Linked DNA regions of Homo sapiens: regions 2, 3, 4 and 5 are each linked to region 1. The links are contacts of gene promoters, found by promoter capture Hi-C in blood cells and fetal thymus (Javierre and others, 2016). All regions are on one chromosome and are shown on one strand. The core of a region is centred on a gene start or on the middle of the fragment in contact, and the rest is flanking DNA. Distances in the headings are between cores, read along the strand shown. Region 1 holds the start of CD79B (CD79b molecule). Region 2 overlaps ERN1 (endoplasmic reticulum to nucleus signaling 1). Region 3 overlaps TEX2 (testis expressed 2). Region 4 has its middle 3.1 kb from the start of SNHG25. Region 5 overlaps ERN1 (endoplasmic reticulum to nucleus signaling 1).

Region 1 (3,529 bases), core at 470-2,969:
CACACACACCCCCCACAAACACGTGTGCCCCAAGCCTTTCCCAGTTATACCCCCCAACTTTGGGGAGACACTAGCCCCAAAGTTAATGAAGGACTCTGTCGTTAGGGGCTCAGGAAGAGTATTTCCTAAACCATGAGACTCCCAGATTTTGCCCCACTCCCCCCGGGTCAGTCTCTCTCCAGCCACCCTCACCAGCATGCGGGCCCATGGGCCTCAAGCTGACCTCAGGTGATGTTTATATTTCTGAGCTGTTTATTCCATGAACTGAACATCTGACAGCTTTTCAGAGAAATGTTTTTTCATTTGGAACATCTGGAAACAAGAAAGAACATCTGGGGCTGCCCGGAACGGGCTGTTCCTCGGATGAAACCTTAACCCTCCTGCCCCTGACTTCCGTGGCTCAGGTCCTGGCCTGCACCCCTTGAGAGTGGCCCCCACCTTATCAGGTCCGAGGCCTAGGCCAAGATCTAAAGAGGGACCACCCAGACCCTCTGCCTTCCAACCATGGCATGGGAGGTGGTTCTGCTTCTCCCTAAATCCAGACAGACCTGCCCCAGCACAGACTGGAAAACGGAGGGTTGTGAGGAGAGTGAGAGGTGGACAGAGGGCACCGACGATTTAGCATCTCTTCCTCTCCTGGGGGTCGAGGATGAGAGACAAAAAAGAAGCTGCCAGGAAACATAAAATTCAGAGGGCTCAGCTGCAGGGCTGAGGTCTGCAAGCATGCTGTGTACACTTGTGCATGTTGTGCCCTGCACAAGGGCATCTCTGAAGGGGCTGCATTGGACCCAGGGGCAGGGGCGCAAAGGTGAGTTTATATCAGTTCCTGAGCACTGTGGCTCCATCCAGCACTCTGAGGACAGGCAGGATACAGCTGGAGGACCTGAGGGCTCCCCCACACCAGCTCCTGTTCCCTGCCCAAGACCCCCTGGACCTGCAGACAACAATTCAACGCACTCAGAGTCCCACAGTTAAGAACTCCCTGAAGAAGCCCCCAGTGGCTGCGTGGTGGATTTTCGCAAAGCTGTCTCCACCTACATCCACCCTGTTTGGCAGCCCCTACATACTCTTTCACAGCATGAGGAAGGGAGGCCTCTCACCAAGACCTGGACTGAATCTTCTCCCAGTGGCTGCCACACTTGACCTGCTCTTGCTCCAGAACCTCTGTGGCTCCCATCCTCCACAGGGTCAACTTCCAACATGGCTGCCTGCACTCCAGCCAAGAGGCTCTGCTCTGGGCCCCTCCAGATGCCTGACCTGGGTCTGTGGCTGCCCTGTCCTTCTTCAGTGCTCCTCTTCCCGCTGGGTGAGGAATAGTTCAGGACAGAGGAGCTAAGTTCAGGTTCATTCATAGGACAGGTGCCTATTTCGCTCACGGCCCAGGAATAGAGACTTGCCGGGCTCGGCCCTTCGGGGAGTTGGCAGACGGCAGAGGGGAGGCTGGCTGGCCCAGGGGATGACCACCGGTGGGGTAAGCACAGACAGAGGGGAGCACAGGCTTCCCCCAGAAGACTGAGAGGCCCCCCAGAGGCATCCACAGAGGACCCCAGCTGTGCTGCCCAAGCTGGGCGACCGCCAAACCTTAGCGGCCCAGCTGACAAAAGCCTGCCCTCCCCCAGGGTCCCCGGAGAGCTGGTGCCTCCCCTGGGTCCCAATTTGCATGGCAGGAAGGGGCCTGGTGAGGAAGAGGCGGGGAGGGGACAGGCTGCAGCCGGTGCAGTTACACGTTTTCCTCCAAGGAGCCTCGGACGTTGTCACGGGTTTGGGGTCGGGGACAGAGCGGTGACCATGGCCAGGCTGGCGTTGTCTCCTGTGCCCAGCCACTGGATGGTGGCGTTGCTGCTGCTGCTCTCAGGTACAGAACCCACGACGAGGCCTGTGGGGTTTGCTCTCATCTCCAGCTGTCTGGGCCCTGCGGCTCTGCCTCCTGCTTGCTCCACCCTCCTCCTCTGTCTCTCACTCTTTACCGCCTGTCTCCCTCTCATGGCCCTGGGGCCTGGGTCTGTGGGTGTCAGCTGCACGTGGTGATGGGCTCAGGAGCCTGTGGCCCCAGTTCCTCTCCTGCCTGGAGAGCATCAGGCTGAGCTGGGCATGAGGAGCAAACCAGAGTTAGCAACCAGGACCGTGGAAGAACTAGGCTCAGGAGGAAGAGAGGCTGAGGGCGGTGCCTGGGGGTCGGGAGGGGAGAGGCTGTCCCAACCGGACCCTGGAAGATGCAAGATCCAAATGTGGTCCCCTCCTCTGGGAGGTGAAAGATCCTCCGGGCTGTGACTTTCTTCCTGTCTCTCTTTAAAAAAAAAAAAAAAAAGAGAGACAGGGTGTCCCTATGTTGCCCAGGCTGGTCTCAAACTCCTGGACCCAAGCGATCCTCCTGTCTTGGCCTCTCAAAATACTGAGATTTCCCTGTCCCTCCTGTCTCATTCAGATGCCTGCTCAAAGCCACCATGAGGGTCAAAGGCAGAAAGGGGGCTGGGGGCAGGGCTTCCGGTACCCCCACCCCATATCTGTCTCCCAAGTACTGGGGGCAGGGAGGACCGAGGGGTCTTGAAGCTGCTGTCATGGAAGGAGGAAGTAGCTCCGGGAACATAGAGGGCATGCAGGGGTGGGGCAGCCCAGGCCAGAGGAGGCCCTGACTGGCCCCGCCCACTTCCTCCCACCCAGCAGCTGAGCCAGTACCAGCAGCCAGATCGGAGGACCGGTACCGGAATCCCAAAGGTCAGTAGCCTCGCCTGCCGCTTCTGAGGGCAAGTTGTGTGCGACTATGTCCTGTGTCCGACTATGGTCCCTGTCCTGGGGGCGGTCCGCCTTCCCACCCTTGCCTGATCTCCCCATCCAGGATTCCCATCCCCAGGCCTCCTTAGGATCTCCTCTGAGCCCCACCCCCAGCCCACTGTCATCCTCATCAGACACATGCCCTCCAGCCTTGGCCACTGAAGGGCTGGGCTAAACTCTGGGTCATAGCAAGGGAGCCTGGGGGTTCCTCTAGGACTCAGGCCCGGGCCTGTCTAGCTGGGAATCTGGCTGAGTCTCGGGTGAGCCCTCCAGTGCAGGGTCACTATGTGAGGGGCTCAGGGATTCCCGGGCAGTGCTCACTAAGAACAAGGCAGTCGAAGCTGGAAAGAGGGTTCTGGAACAAGAAGTGGACCCAGTCCCTGCAGGAGGGAAGAGGGGGATGATAGAGGGAAGTCATGCAGGGAGGGGGTCGACTGAGGAAGGTCTCAGTTGACAGACTAGGAATTTGGCCTTTATCCCTGGAGGAACGGGGGAGACTGAGGATTTCAAGCCTGTGCAGGGCAGCCCAGTGAAAGGAGGGGCCAGGCCTGTGGGCCTCCAGGTCCTGGGGGTGTGGCCTGGGTCAGGCTGTTGTAATGGGCATAGGAAGGAATGGCAAGGTCCCAGGGCTCTTCCAAAGGAAAATCGAAGGGGAGGTGGGGCAGTCGGGAAGAGGTGGAGTCTGAGAGCTTGGCCGTGGCTTCTCATGTGGCTCAGCCTCTCACGTGGCTCTGCTTCCCAACTCCAACCTCAGCCT
Region 2 (3,499 bases), core at 892-3,391, 140 kb before region 1:
ACACTGCAGTGTCCTGTCTTGTCTTTTCTCTTTTCTTTTGAGACAGGGTCTCACTTTGTCACCCAGGTTGGAATGCAGTGGCACAATCTTGGCTCACTACAACCTCCGTCTCACAGGCTCAAGCCAGCCTCCCACCTCAGCCTCCTGAGTAGCTGGGACCACAGGTGTACATCTCCACGCCCAGCTAATTTTTTGTATTTTTGGTAGAAATGGGGTTTCATCATATTGCCTAGGCTGGTCTCCAACTTCTGGGCTCAAGCGATCCACCCACCTCAGCCTCCCAAAGTGCTGGGATTACAGACGTGAGCCACCACCACCCAGCTTACAGTGTTTTTGCAATAAGTGGTGTAGGTCAATTGGGATATCCATATAGGAATAAAAGTATTGACTCCTACCCCCCTACAACACATATAAAATCAGTTCCAGATAGATCACACATCTAAATGTGAAATGCAAAATAATAAAGCTTTAAGAAAAAAAGTAATGGAACCATCTTCATGATCTTAGAGTAAGTAGAGATTTATTAAGTAGGATATTAAAGAACACTATAAATTTAGGAAAAAATCAATATATTGATTATATTAAAATTAAGAACTTTTCCTCATTAAGAGGCCACAAAGTATTTGTAGTATACACATCCAACAAAAGTTCATATTCAGAATATATGAAGAAATCCTATGGTACGTTAAAAAAAGACAGCCCAATGGAAGAATAACAGAAGAGAATATCCAAATGGTCATAAACATATGAAAAGATGTTCCATTTTATTAGTCATTTGGAAATGCAAATTAAAGCCACAGTGCCATACTGCTACTCACCAGAATGGCCAAAACAAGGAAAGTAGAAAAAGAAAACATGTTGGTGATGTGGAGCAACCAGGACTCTCACCTACTGCTGGCGGAAGTGCAGGGTGGCACAAGTGATTTGGAAAACTGTTGGCAGTAAGTGCTAAAGTCCTTAGGACCCAGTAATGCCCTCCTAGGTTACAGACCCAACAGAAATGCACATTTGTGGCTGGGTGCGGTGGCTCATGCCTGTAATCCCAGCACTTTGGGAGGCCAAGGTGGGCGGATCACGAGGTCAGGAGATCGAGACCATGGTGAAACCCCGTCTCTACTAAAAATACAAAAAATTAGCCAGGTGCGGTGGCGGGCGCCTATAGTCCCAGCTACTTGGGAGGCTGAGGCAGGAAAATGGCGTGAACCCGGGAGGTGGAGCTTGCAGTGAGCTGAGATCACGCCACTACACTCCAGCCTGGGCAACAGAGCGAGACTCCATCTCAAAAAAAAAAAAAAGAAGAAATGCACTTTTGTTCACCAATGGACATGTGCCCAAATGTACAGCAGCACCATTTATAATAAGCAGAGGGTGGCCAAATAACATCCACAGTGGAGTGGAAAAATAAACTCTGGAAGCGGCATGCACGGTGATGAGGACCAACAGTCTATGACGACACACGCCGCGGATGACTCACAAGCGTGATGTTGAGCAAAACATGACAGACAAAAAAGGCCACACGCTGCCATTCACTTATGTAAAGCCAAAAACAGGAAAAACGAGTCTCTGCTGTTTTGAAGTTAGGATAATAGTTACCCCTGGAGAGTTATGGCTAGAAAGGGGGGCAAGAGAGGAGGGGGGCTTCTGTTTCTTCACCTGGATGCCGGTTACGTGGGTATGTTCACTTTGTGAAACTTGACTGAGCTGTGTGATGATGAGTGCTTTTCTGTTTGCGTATTATGCATCAGTAGGAAGTTTTTAAAGCTTCCAAGTAATTCTCATGGGCAACCAAGGATGAGAACCACTGATCTAGGCTGTAAGTGGATTGTGGACTTTAACTTGGGTGTTTTAAAATTATTTTGTGAATGCCTGTGACCAAAACAGAGGGGAGGAGGGCAAGTTTGTATAGAGCTGTGTGTATTTCACCTTCAACACTGCTCTCCGTTGGTTTCTCTCCACAGCTCTGTAGTCCCCATTTCTTAAGCAATTTGTTTGCCAGAAACTGGGGTGAGTGAGTTGTATAAGTTATCTCATTGGAATCTCTCAGCAGCCCTGTGGGTGATATCCCCGTTTTAGAGGTGTGGAAACAGCCTGGAGAAGTGAAGGAATATGTCCAGGGCTGAGTCTTCTAGTGTTGGAGTTGGTTCTTAAAGAGGATGCCCAGCCGGGCCTGTAATCCCAGCACTTTGGGAGGCCGAGGCGGGCGGATCACAAGGTCAGGAGATCGAGACCATCCTGGCTAACACGGTGAAACCCCGTCTCTACTAAAAAATACAAAAAATTAGCCAGGCGCAGTGGCGGGCGCCTGTAGTCCCAGCTACTTGGGAGGCTGAGGCAGGAGAATGGCATCAACCCGGGAGGCGGAGCTTGCAGTGAGCCGAGATCACGCCACTGCACTTCAGCCTGGGTGAGAGTGAGACTCCGTCTCAAAAAAAAAAAAAAAGAGGATGCCCTTCATCACTCCCTTGTGCTCCTTTCTGGGTTGTGGTTTAGCAGCTCCAGAAACAATGTTTCCCAAGCTTGGGCCTTGAATCAGGGCACCAGTGGCAGTGCTCAGCAGAGACCACAGGACTCCAGAAGACTAGAAGATCTGCAGTGCCTTTCTGATTCTCAGAAACACATGGCAAAACCCAGTCATTGCAGCCTCTCTGAAGCATTTTTCCTCCTCTGAGGCTTGGTTTGAATGTTGGGATGATGGGAAAATCCAAGTTATTTAGTATGCAAAGCTCTGCTTATTAAAGCTAGAGAGAAATCTTTTCTTTCTTGGAGAAAAAGGTGACCATGCAGTAGAGGCATTTCTATAAAAGCAGGTATCTATAGAACAATTTCAAAAACACAGAATGTTCTAAAAATAAAGTATACTGAAACAAGCATTAACCAAAAGAGCTCGTCAGATGTCAGCTGTAGACTCAGAAGAATCAGTTTTATGATGAAATGCAGTTGAAACATTTGGATTCCTTTGAGTTTCTTTTCCTGGCACCTATCTTAACTTCCTCTTTAAAACCAAAAGTCTCAATTTTTCTTGTTTTTCAATAGTGAATTATTTACTGAAGAAAACATCAAAACTCTTTTCCACCTCAAACTCTTGTGTTGCCCCTGTAATGGCGACTTCTCCTTTCCCTCGAAGCTTGAGCTTGGCACCAAGGTTGCATCCCTTCAGCATCAATGTCCTGGCTCCCTCCCATGGGGCTCTACAAAGCACTGTCATTTTACTCAGTCTAGCCAGCTCTGGCTCTGTATTCCAAGCCAGGACAATTCTTTCTTAGCATTTCAAAGAATATATAACTCTCCATATTTGTGTAAATCTTTTCAGAAAAGGTTTGTGTCACCCCTGGGAAGCACCCTGGACAGGAGACCTTGAGGGGCCTCTGCACATGGTGTCAAGTAAAGGAGTGGATGTTTACAGAGCTCAGGGACCTGGGAGCTTGTCAAAATAGATGTGGAAAATTAGCTGGGTGTAGTGGCAACATGCCTGTAATCCCAGCTACTTGGGAGGCTGAGG
Region 3 (4,047 bases), core at 631-3,130, 230 kb before region 1:
TCCTACCAGGATCCACTACCTGTGTGCCTGGTGCCTTCACATCCAGTGTTGGGAGTGATGCTACTTTGCCACCTGAGTAATGACAGAAAACTGGAGCCAGAGTCAGTCATGACTTGCCCACTCCTCCTGCCACACGTGCTTCAAGAGTGACATCAGAGGGCAGCTACAGCCACTGGGGCTGCCTGGGCCTGAGCACCAAGGCAGGGCCATACTCTAGCACGTGGGGCTGATAGGAGTGGCTCTGACCAGACTGTGCTACGGGAAGAAAAACACTTAGTGTGGAAAGGGCTTAGTGTGGGAAGGGGAAATCATACCTCTTGTGGAACATGGGTCGGGTGGGGGACAGGGGACCCTGATTTGCAGCTTGTCAACCTTGAAGGGGTGGAGCTCTATTTCAGAGGACAGTTACAGGTAGATAAGGCTAAAAATGATGTCTATCATCAAAGACACATCCACACACAAGGAATTGCTAATTTTCTGTAGTATCTGAATGAGCAATATGGCACCAGTCTCTTTGCCAGGAGCACAACAGTCACTGGTGTGTTCTTCCCAGAGCTGAATAACTCCAACATCTGTTCTTGATAATGTTATCAAATGTTCCATTTTAAGAAGTTTTGTTCTTTGGATGCCAAATATTGACTTTCAGAGTGAAATCAGCTGTTAATAGTTACAGGTAGAAGGAAATGGAGGAGAAAATAACGTGAGGACCAAGTTCAGGTGTGCAGGGTTTTGGTTCCCTTAACTACTCCCAAGCAGCAGGTGCCCTCTCAAGCCTACTCCAGTGAGACAGATGCCTAAATAGTAATAAAACAGTGAACTGCTGTGTGAGATTATTAGATTCACATGGCCACGGGAGGACTGAGGCCATGGGGTCTGTTAACTGGAAAACCAGGCCGAAGGCAGAAGAGCCTCTTGTGGTTGTGGCCACCCCTTATCTGTGGGGACATACGCCAAGGCATTTTATGATACCAACTGGCATCATGGTCTGAGCTGCAGCAGCTGGCCTAGGCCACTTTTATTTTTCTTCAAACATACACTTCCTGAGGGCAGGGGTTCATCTCAGTGCTTTTGGCTCTGATATTGTACATTAAGAACGCATACACGCTTTTTGGTGGAATAAGCTGTAATTTTTGCCACAGTGTCTCTGTGTAGTGGTGGTAGTGGTAATTGATCCTGCCGCTGTGAAACTGAAGAGTGGAAAAACAGCATCTGAGCTCCTTCCAGGTCCTTGTACACAGACTAAGTCTTACTACATTGTCACTCGTGTTGCTGCATGAAGTGCCAGGGTTTTTTTTTTTTTTCTTCTTCTTCTTTTGAGACAGAGGCTAGAGTGCAGTAGGGCGATCGCGGCTCACTGCAACCTCTGCCCCCCAGGCTCAAGCCATTCTCGTGCCTCAGCGTACCTAGCAGCTGGGACTACAGGTGCGCACCACCATGCCTAGCTAATTTGTGTATTTTTAGTAGAGACGAGGTTTCACCATGATGGCCAGGCTGGTCTTGAACTCCTGGCCTCAAGTGATCCGCCTGCCTCAGCCTCCCAAAGTGCTGGGATTACAGGCGTGAGACACTGTGCCCAGCCTGAAGTGCCAGTTTTATAGGGGCTCGTTAATAATCGGGTGCCACTGGTTACCACTGGACAACCTCTCAACATGATGTGGAATAGACCCTTCGTATGCGTGCCTCCAGCCCCCTTTCCCAGAGAACCTCTCAGGACTGCCTGCTTACTCCTATTTAAAGGCATCAAAGATTATCCCACTCCTCAATTTCTGGTTTTGTTCTTGAGCACCAGCCAGGGCACATGGTTATAGAAAGTATTTTCAGTGAAATGCCTACAGCTAAGTCTTAACCATTTGTCAAGACTACAAAAGAAAGGGCCCTGTAACCGCATTCCTCTAGATTAAGTAGCATTTAGCTGGGTTACAGTGGAAGATGGTGCTCATGGGGCAGTGTATGTCCCCGTGTGCTCATTGTTGCTATGTTAGTCCCCAAGGGGAAGACAACCTTTCTAGTAACTGTGAATTTCATCTTTCAGTCTTGCAAGGCAGGGGCCTCCTGACTCACCTGTCACGTAACCGGTTGGTCTTTGCTCCAAGTTTTGGGAGTTGCCCGTGTCCCCAGGTTTTCAGGTCACGTTCTGCCTGCTGAATCATTGTTACAAAAGCAAATTTCTCCTACACTTAATGCTAAAATAGTCTTCTTACCCTCATCTGAATGCAAGCACATCATATTAGAGTCATTTGTTGGAATATTTATTTACCATTCATGTCTGCTTTTAAAAGTTCTTAAACCATTCCAGGCCAGGTGCAGTGGCTCACACCTCCCAAAGTAATCCCAGCACTTTGGGAGGCCAAGGCAGGTGGATCACTTGAGCTCAGGAGTTTGAAATCACCCTGGGCAATATGGCAAAACCCCATCTCTACCAAAAATAAAATATATATATATGTTAGCCGGGCATGGTGGCGGACCCCTGTGGTCCCAGCTACTCAGGAGGCTGTGGTGGGAGGATCACTTGAGCCTGGGAGGCGGAGGTTGCAGTCAGCCAAGATCGTACCAGGTGGCACTCCAGCCTGGGTGAGAGTGAGACCCCATCTCAGGGAAGAAAAAAGTTCTTAAAGCATTCTTGACTCTTTCATATTTTTATGAGTGCCAGGGCTGAGCAGGGCCCTGTGAGTGGGTCTCATGAGGTATATTCAGTGTTTAAAACAGACCCCTCACCCAGGCAGAGGCTCAGTCAGATGCCCAAGCCTCATCCTCAGATATCAGGCTCCATGGCTGACCAGTACAGCCTCTTCCCTGGCAACAGCAGCAAGGGAGACAGAGCAAGAAGTAAGGGTGGGCTGGTGAATGCAGAAAAAGGGAGGCTGCCTGGTCAGACTGTGCCAGGTGCCAGGGTGTACACAGCTCTCCCTGAAAGAGGCAGTATAGGTCTCCTTGGTGCAGACAAAGGTACTGATGGCACAGAAGTGAAGAAACTTCCAGTGAAACACAAGCCCCAATCTATGTGACTGGGCTCCTTGCTCTTCCCTGGGCCTTCCTCCACCTCCCAGCTCCTGGCAGGGACGCTGGACCACACATCATTTGGTAGAATGTCCCCGTGACTGGGCATGAGCCAGCAGTTTACTAAGCCTAAATCCATATATCTTCATTTAAAAAACAGACTAGCAAAACTTTCCATTTTGTAAGAAGTATAATTCTGGTGCCTTTAATATGTCCATTTTCAAAGGCAACGCATACTATTAATATTTATTAGAAACTTGACTAGAATTTTCAAAAGAAACGATTATGTTTGGATGTATATAGTAACTAGGTAGTTTGAATATTAATTTTCAAAGCTGGAAATACTATACAACAATAAATATCTCCTTTATTGTTGTTCTTTTACATTGAGTTTAAATCTATTAATATTAGCCTTTTGCTCTAATCCCCTTTCTCCTGAAGTGATTAAAAACTAAATGTCTTTATTAAAGCAGATATACCCTTTATTTCCAGTAATAGTACCTTTGAAGAGCAAGCTAATTAATTCTTTCTAACTGCTTAATGTAAACAAGAAATACAACAGTTTTGTGAGTATTGCTGCAAAGAAGATAATCACAATTGATCTCCATATCACTTAATTAAACCAGGTCATTCATGGAAAATAATTACCTTCCATTATGGTAAAAAGAATTTGTTGAAAACAAAATGGAAATCATCCTGCCTTTAGTGAGGAATGACACCATTAGTGCTGGGTGGGGTTAAGCAGTGGTTTTATCTGAGGTGGTGGCCGTGTAGGGGATGGGCTGTTTACTGTAATTGCTTGAAAACAATGCTGTATGTGAACGATGGTTTTAGATTAATTTCCTGCTTCCTTTTAGATGTCATTTGTCATGTGAGGATCTATAAAAGTTTATTAACATTTAAACACCCACTTAAAGGATCACATTTTGATAGAAAGTCCATGAGGTCTTCTGGAGCCCCGAGTCTGAAAAATCACAGAAAAATACTTGACAAATCATAGAATCCTCAAGTAGAAGAGGGTCATGAGATAAACCCTGTTTGCATTTTAAA
Region 4 (3,781 bases), core at 317-2,816, 210 kb before region 1:
AATTAGCCGGGCGTGGTGGCAGGCCCCTGTAATCCCAGCTACTCAGGAGGTTGAGGCAGGAGAATCGCTTGAACCCGGGAGGCGGAGGTTGCAATGAGCTGAGATCGCGCCATTACACTCTAACCTGAGCAACAGAGCGAGACTCCATCTCAAAAAAAAAAAAAAAAACCTCTTTAATCCAAAGCAATAATGACTTTGACAAGTGTTTAGTAGTCTCTATTTATTTTTGTTGCTGTTTTAACTTTCGTTATCTCAACATTTATTACATTATGGTACAGTTTCCGCATTGGGCAATGTATGAAAGTTTTCTTTGTGACCTAAAATATCAGTTTTTATAAGTGTTCCACAGATTGTTGAAACGAAGATGTTTTCACTATCAAGTACAAACATGGTATAAAATATTTATTTATTAATTCAACCTTAGTTGTGTTGTAATTACATTGTCCACAGCTCTGCTTTGTGTATTATGTACTTGCTTGGAAGTTGGCTGTTGGCTTTGATTGTGATGTGTTAAGATTATGCCTCAAATACCAAATGCCAGTGAGGATGTGGAGCAACAGAAGCTTTGCTCCATTACTTGTTTCGTTTTGTTTTTTGAGACAGTCTCACTCTGTTGCCCAGGCTGGAGTGCGGTGGCACAATCTTGGCTTACTGCAACCTCCGCCTCCCGACTTCAAGCAATTCTCCTGCGTCAGCCTCCCCAGTAGCTGGAATTACAGGCATGCACAACCATGCCTGGCTAATTTTTGTATTTTTAGTAGAGATGGGGTTTTACCATATTGGCCAGGCTGGTCTCAAACTCCTGACCTCATGATCCTCCCGCCTCAGCGTCCCAAAGTGCTGGGATTACAGGCGTGAGCCGCCGCGCCCGGCCTGCTCTTTTCTTTTCTTCTCCTCTTCTCTTTTCTTTTCTTTTCTTTTTTGAGACAGAGTCTGGCTCTGTCGCCCAGGCTGGAGTACAGTGGCACTATCTTGGCTCACTGCAACCTCTGCCACCCGGGTTCAAGCGACTCTGCTGCCTCAGCCTCCCTAGTGCTGGGACTACAGGCACGGACCACCATGCCCGGCTAATTTTTGTATTTTTAGTAGAGACGGGGTTTCACCATGTTGGCCAGGCTGGTCTTGAACTCCTGACCTCAAGTGATCCACCCGCCTCAGCCTCCCAAAGTGCTGGGATTACAGGCATGAGCCACCGTGCCTGGCCTGCTTTTTTATTTTCTTGACAGTGTCTTTCAAAGAGGAGACATTTTTAATTTTGATGAAAATCTAATTTATCAATTTTTTAATAGACAGTACTTCTGGTTTCATATCTAAGAAATCTTGGCCTAATACAGATTTTTCTTTTATATGGTTTCTTCTAGAAGTTTAATTTAATTTAATTTAATTAATTAATTAATTTATTGAGACGAAGTCTCGCTCTGTCACCAGGCTGGAGTGCAGTGGTGCGATCTCAGCTCACTACAACCTCTGTCTCCCAGGTTCAAGTGATTCTCTTGCCCCAGCCTCCCGAGTAGCTGGGATTACAGGCGCACGCCACCATGCCTGGCTAATTTTTGTATTTTTAGTAGAGATGGGGTTTCACCATGTTGGCCAGGATGATCTCAATGTCTTGACCTCGTGTTCCGCCCACCTTGACCTCCCAAATTTCTTGAGATTACAGGCGTGAGCCACTGCGCCCGCTCTTCGAGAAGTTTTATAGTGTTTGCTCTCGCATTCAGGTCTATTATCTTTTTCAAGTTAATTTTTGTGTCTAGTGTGAGACAAGAGTTAGGTTCATTTGTTTGTATATGGATATTCACTTGTTCCAGCACCATTTGTTGAAGAGGATATCCTTTCACTTAAAGTACCTTGTCATGTTTGTAAAAAAAAAAAAAATTGACCATATATGAGTTGGTTTGTTTCTAAGCAGTATCTTCTTTTGCACTGTTATTTATCTACCCTTTATTACCATTGCTTTATAGTACATCTTAAAATCAGATATACAAGATCTGTAACTTTGTCCTCTTTCAAAATTATTTTGACTATTTTAGGTTGTTTGTATTTCCAGAAACATTTTAGAATCAGCTTGTCAATTTCTACAGAAGACCAGTAGGAATTTTGCCTGAAATTATATTGAATCTGTAGATCAATTTGGGAATAATTGACATCTTAACAACACTCAGTCTTTCATCCCATGAATACAGTATATTTCTTCATTTAAGTCTTATTCATTTCCCTCAGCAATGTCATAGTTTTCATTGTACAATCTTGCATATATTTTGTGAAATTTATCCCTCAGGATTTCATTTATAATGCTATTATGAATGATACTATATTTATTCTTTTTTTTTTAGTCAAGCCTCTAACATGAGAGATACTATTTTTAAATTTCAATTTCCAAGAGTTCATTGCTGGTATATAGAAATGCAATTTCTATTAATTTAAATCTAATTTTACTAAAATCATTTTAATAAATTTTTGTAATTTGGTAAATTTTTGTAAATTGATTCCATCTTCTGTAGGGTGGGTACAATCAAAGGTGAACTTGAGAACTGGCTTCTATTTTTTGCCCCACCTCATCACAAGCTTTTTCCACAGGTGCCCTGGAAGCAGTTGAGGCAGAAAAGGCCCATGGGTTATTTAGAAGAATGATGTTAATTTCCAAATAGTGACCGGGAATGGTGGCTCACGCCTGTCATCCCAGCACTTTGGGAGGCTGAGGTGGGCGGACCACAAGTTCAGGAGTTCGAGACAAGCCTGGCCAATATGGTGATTACAGGCACATGCCACCATGCCCAGCTAATTTTTTTTTTTTTGTATTTTTAGTAAAGACAGGGTTTCACCATGTTGGCCAAGCTGGTCTTGAACTCCTGACCTCAAGTGGTCCACCCACATCGGACTCCCAAAGTGCTGGGATTACAGGCATAAGCCACTGCACCTGGCCTATATTTTTAAATATTTATTTATTTATTTATGTGTTTTTATTTTATTTTTGAGACATGGTCTCACTCTGTCACCCAGGCTGGAGTGGAATGCAGTGGTGCAATCATGGGTCACTGCAGCCTCACCCTCCTGAACTCAAGAGATCCCTGGGCCTCAGCCTCCTAAGTAGCTGGGACTACAGGAGTGCACTACCATGCCCCGCTAAGTTTTTAAATTTTATTTTAGAGACAGAGTCTCATTATGTTGGCCACACTGGTCTTGAACTCACAGTCTCAGGCAGTCCTTCCCCCTCTGCCTTCCAAAGTGCTGGGATTACAGGTGTGCGCCACCATGCTACCCTCCTTTTTTTTTTTTTTAAATTGGCAACACTTCATTCCATAAAATAGAATAAGTGTTTCCAGAATGTGTATTCTTTTGTTGTTGGGTATAATGTTTTATAAGTGTAAAGGAGATCAAGGTAGTTGATAGTGTTATTCAAATCTCAATGGGAGGGTGGCGATTTTGCCATCCAGGGAACATTTGGCAATATCTGGAGACATTTTTGTTTTTCACAACTAGGAGGGATGCCCTGACACCTATTAGGTAGTGTTATGGGTTGTATCCTCCAAAAGGAAATGCTGAAGCTGGCCAGGCATGGTGGCTCATGCTTGTAATCTCAGCACTTTGGGAAGCTGAGGCAGGAGAATTGCTTGAGGCTAGGATTTCAAGACCAGCCTGGGCAACAAGCAAGACCCCCATCTCTACAAAAAAATTTAAAAAGTTAGCCAGCCACAGTGATTTGTGCCTGTAGTCCCAGCTACTCAGGAGGCTAAGGCAGGAGGATGGCTTGAACCCAGGAGTTGGAGGCTGCAGTGAGCCA
Region 5 (3,489 bases), core at 555-3,054, 170 kb before region 1:
GGTTCAAGCAATTCTCCTGCCTCAGCCTTCTGAATAGCTGGGAATACAGGCACATGCCACCATGCCTGGCTAATTTTTGTGTGTTTAGTAGAGATGGGTTTTCACCATGTTGGCCAGGCTGGTCTCGAACTCCTGACCTCAAGTGATCCGCCTGCCTTGGCCTCCCAAAATGTTGGGATTACAGGTGTGAGCCACCACGCCTGGCCTTATTTCCACTTTAGCCACCCAGAGTTTAACTCACTTTCTTGTGTGGCCTCCCAAGACCTGTTGTACAGAGTGGTTATTCCTGTGGTAACTTTGGGGGGTGGAGGAGGGCTCAGCAGGGATTTCCACTTCTTGGCCCCAGGTATGCATAATTTGCCCTTTCATTTATTCATCCTCCAAACTGTCACACCTAACATAATCCAGCCATCCCACACCAAGCTGCACACCCATTCCCCCTCCTCAGTGGCAGACAGCCCCAATTCACTTAGCCCCTGTTTACTCATGAACTCCCAGTGGCCTTGTCATAGGGCCACAGTTCTCCAGGCCCAGGTACCTGTGGTTCAGGTGGCTTGTCACCATCTGGACCCTCTGGGCTGAAATAATTCTAACCACTCCCAAACAGTGACCTTTGCATCCCCGGCTAGGGCAGATACCACCCTTGAGGCTTATGTTTTCCTGGCCGATTTATACTCTGATATTAATTTCCTAGTTCCAGAGGTAGAATTAAAAGCACTCTTCTTCCTCAGACTTCAGGCTTTGCACAGAGTAGACTCGGTAGGTGGCAACACAGCTTACTGTCCTTTCTCCCATTCCAGGGAGTGGGCCCAGGCCCTGGCCCTGGGCAAAGCGAAGAGGTGGGATGTGCAAAGTTCTAGCAGCTGTTTCACTCCCTCCGTTGGTGGGTCTCCACCACAGAAAAGGAATACGGGACCCCAGAGTATTTGTCCTGCCACCTCAGGCTGCCCCAGAGAGAGCCTGTGGGGCCTTCCCTTTGAAGGATTAACTAGGCATCCTGGCTCTTACCGAGAGTAGCCGGGCCTTCTGGGATCAGGCTCCCATGCACAAATAACCCCAATCCTTTTACATTTAATGCTCCATACTTCTGTATTTCAAAAATAGCATTTGTGCCAGAATTCAAACTGTTGCAGTATAAGCAAGTTGCATTGGCATTTTTTTTTTTAATTGAAGACCTGGGGAAAAAGCTATTTGTAGGATAGTATGTGACAAAAGAAGAGAAAATCTCATTACAAGGGTGGGGTTGCTGAAGGGACCCCTACCTCAAAAGGGAAATCTTATCCAGGAAACCTTACCAGCTGTCACCTGCATATGCGTCCGTGTGTACATGTGCGCACACACCTGCTCCCATGGAAACCCTGTGGAATGAGGGTACAATTCCTAGCAAAGCCAGAAGACAGGCAGACAAAAAAAAAAATCTGTCCAGTATAATTGTAACCACAGTGGATATCAAATCTTGGATTCTATATTTAATTGATAATGTATATAAGCATTTTTCTATATTGTAGATTTTTCCAAGTGTTATTTTAATGATAATTATTTCACTGAACATATGTCTTTATTTATCTTAGCCATTTAGATATTATTGGAAGTTTGGTTCTTTCCAGTTTTTGTGTTTATAAATGGGACGTCATGAGTATCATTGTGCACAGAACTTTTTCCATTTCTGGAGTTATTTCTTTAGAGTATAGAAGTGGAATTACAGGATCAAAAACTAAGAGCACTTTTATATTTTCCAGAAAGATGATACTAGTAATTTTCAGTGCTACTAGCAATGGATGGGAAATGTCACAGCCTTTGGTTATTTCTTTTAAAATTTTTTTTGTTTTGTTTTAAGTTTGTTGAGAAAAAAGGTACATTTTAATTTAAATTTTATTTTTATTCTAAGTGAGGACCAGTTTGGGGTTATGCTTTTTATTCATTTACTTTTATAACATATCTTTACTGGAATCTTAGTGTTTTATTTTATAAATTCTTTGTATAATGAAAGCTGTTTTTCCTATTTTGCTTTAAGCATTTTCCCCTAATTCTTTGCTTTTTAAAATTTCATGAATGTGTGTATGCGTGGGTATTGGCATTCTTTTTTATCATAACGTCTTATGAGATGCCCAGGTTTTAGAGAATAGAATAGGCCCAAGAGAAGGAAGTCAGAAAGCTGAGCATACTTTGCCCCTCTGTTTCAGTGGAGGTTGCCCATGGATTATTTCAGAATTCTTGTCCTTGTAATGTTAGGTCATGAGCCTGCCTGTCTGCAGGCAGGATCACTGCTTAGAGTGAGGTGACCTGGGTTCTAGTCCTGACTGAGTGGGAATTTAGGCTCTCCACCTTCCATTTCTTCATCTGTAAAATGGAGGGTTTTAGTAGGATAACCTTGGGAGTGGGGGGTCTGTGATTGTACATGCCCAAGGTGAAGAATCATATCAACATTAAGAGTCTTCTACATCTCGTTGCAGATTTTTGGAAGTACCAGCACAGTGACGCTTCCTGAAACCTTGTTGTTTGTGTCAACGCTGGATGGAAGTTTGCATGCTGTCAGCAAGAGGACAGGCTCAATCAAATGGACTTTAAAAGAAGGTAATTTGGATTTGGTCCTTGGGCGACATGGACATTTGCTTAACTGGTTCCACAGAAACATATTCTGGAGAAAGAGAAAACATTACTCATTATCTAATAAAATAAATAAGAAATAAAGAAGAATGGGATCAAGAGAGGAAAAGGCATTCTGCTCAAAGGACGTTTATAGCTTTGCTGTGGTTATCCACTAAGTGCATCAGTTAAAGAAGCACGTTTTATCTTCTTTTTTGCTTCTGTTTAGACTTCATGTTAAAATGGCTCTAGGCTTTTCTATTAATAGCTCTAGCTAGTTGGTCTTTATGAAGACATGCTGCACTAAATTTGTTCTCATGATTAGAATCTTGTAATCATAATTACAAGAAGGTATCTTCTCAACACCTCAAATTACTCATTTGTTTTTATAGAGGCTGAAATAATAGAGGGCTGTAAGATTTGACATTCATCCAAGTTAACCACTTTATTGGGTTGTTATGGTGAGGGGAATAAAGACTGAGCTTCTTTCTTACTTAACATACCATGCGTCCATGTTATGATCTGATCTTCCTGGTGGTAACTAGCAGAGTCAAGCCCTACAGCTGGGAAATTGTATTTGATTTCCAAAGTAATCTTTCCAGATAAAGCCATGCAAATCCCAGGATTTGGGACTTTCAGAGTCATCTATATTATTTAATCTGTCTAGTAATAAATCTCATTTGGCCCGAGGTTCGGGTCTGAACAGCATCGTTCTCTTTCGTCACTACTCTGTGACTCATTACTTTCACGAGCACAGCCAATGTTTTTCCTTCCTTAATAAAGTGTTCCAAAACAGTATGCTAGATGGAAAAATATTGGCATATGTCAGAAGGTCACACATTGTCTTGTGAATTCAGCAGCAAACCTCGTTACCATCCATAGATGATGGCAGCTGGGTTACCA

The links. Contacts are between HindIII fragments. The CHiCAGO score rates a contact against its expected background, and 5 or more counts as called.
Region 2: a contact is called between a fragment that was not itself captured here and the fragment with the promoter of CD79B in region 1, in 6 of 17 cell types (total CD8 T cells, total CD4 T cells, naive CD4 T cells and 3 more). The highest score is 7.4, in total CD8 T cells.
Region 3: a fragment that was not itself captured here is called in contact with the fragment with the promoter of CD79B in region 1 in 3 of 17 cell types (total CD4 T cells, non-activated CD4 T cells and naive CD8 T cells); the score reaches 5.9 in total CD4 T cells.
Region 4: a contact is called between a fragment that was not itself captured here and the fragment with the promoter of CD79B in region 1, in 7 of 17 cell types (total CD4 T cells, non-activated CD4 T cells, total CD8 T cells and 4 more). The highest score is 10.4, in total CD4 T cells.
Region 5: a fragment that was not itself captured here is called in contact with the fragment with the promoter of CD79B in region 1 in 1 of 17 cell types (total CD4 T cells); the score reaches 5.1 in total CD4 T cells.

The regions. Positions count from the first base shown.
Region 1 is chr17:63,930,521-63,934,049 of GRCh38, reverse strand. It overlaps CD79B (CD79b molecule), which reads left to right and starts at 1,719. Exons shown (of 6, transcript NM_000626.4): 1 at 1,719-1,855; 2 at 2,665-2,715. The coding sequence starts at 1,789. RefSeq lists enhancers at 64-468, 1,043-1,092, 1,103-1,212, 1,069-1,739, 1,713-2,102 and 2 more and a silencer at 2,800-2,869. The HindIII fragment of the contact is 15,563 bases long and covers 1-3,529 here.
Region 2 is chr17:64,075,546-64,079,044 of GRCh38, reverse strand. The region is part of intron 4 of ERN1 (endoplasmic reticulum to nucleus signaling 1); the gene reads left to right. Among named protein-coding and RNA genes, the nearest start is that of ERN1, 53 kb to the left of the region's middle. The HindIII fragment of the contact is 755 bases long and covers 1,764-2,518 here.
Region 3 is chr17:64,161,688-64,165,734 of GRCh38, reverse strand. All of the region lies in intron 7 of TEX2 (testis expressed 2), which reads left to right. Among named protein-coding and RNA genes, the nearest start is that of SNORA50C, 17 kb to the right of the region's middle. The HindIII fragment of the contact is 7,291 bases long and covers 1-4,047 here.
Region 4 is chr17:64,141,023-64,144,803 of GRCh38, reverse strand. No RefSeq gene overlaps it. Among named protein-coding and RNA genes, the nearest start is that of SNHG25, 3.1 kb to the left of the region's middle. The HindIII fragment of the contact is 2,002 bases long and covers 566-2,567 here.
Region 5 is chr17:64,097,206-64,100,694 of GRCh38, reverse strand. It overlaps ERN1 (endoplasmic reticulum to nucleus signaling 1), which reads left to right. Exons shown (of 22, transcript NM_001433.5): 2 at 2,454-2,574. Among named protein-coding and RNA genes, the nearest start is that of ERN1, 31 kb to the left of the region's middle. The HindIII fragment of the contact is 5,385 bases long and covers 1-3,489 here.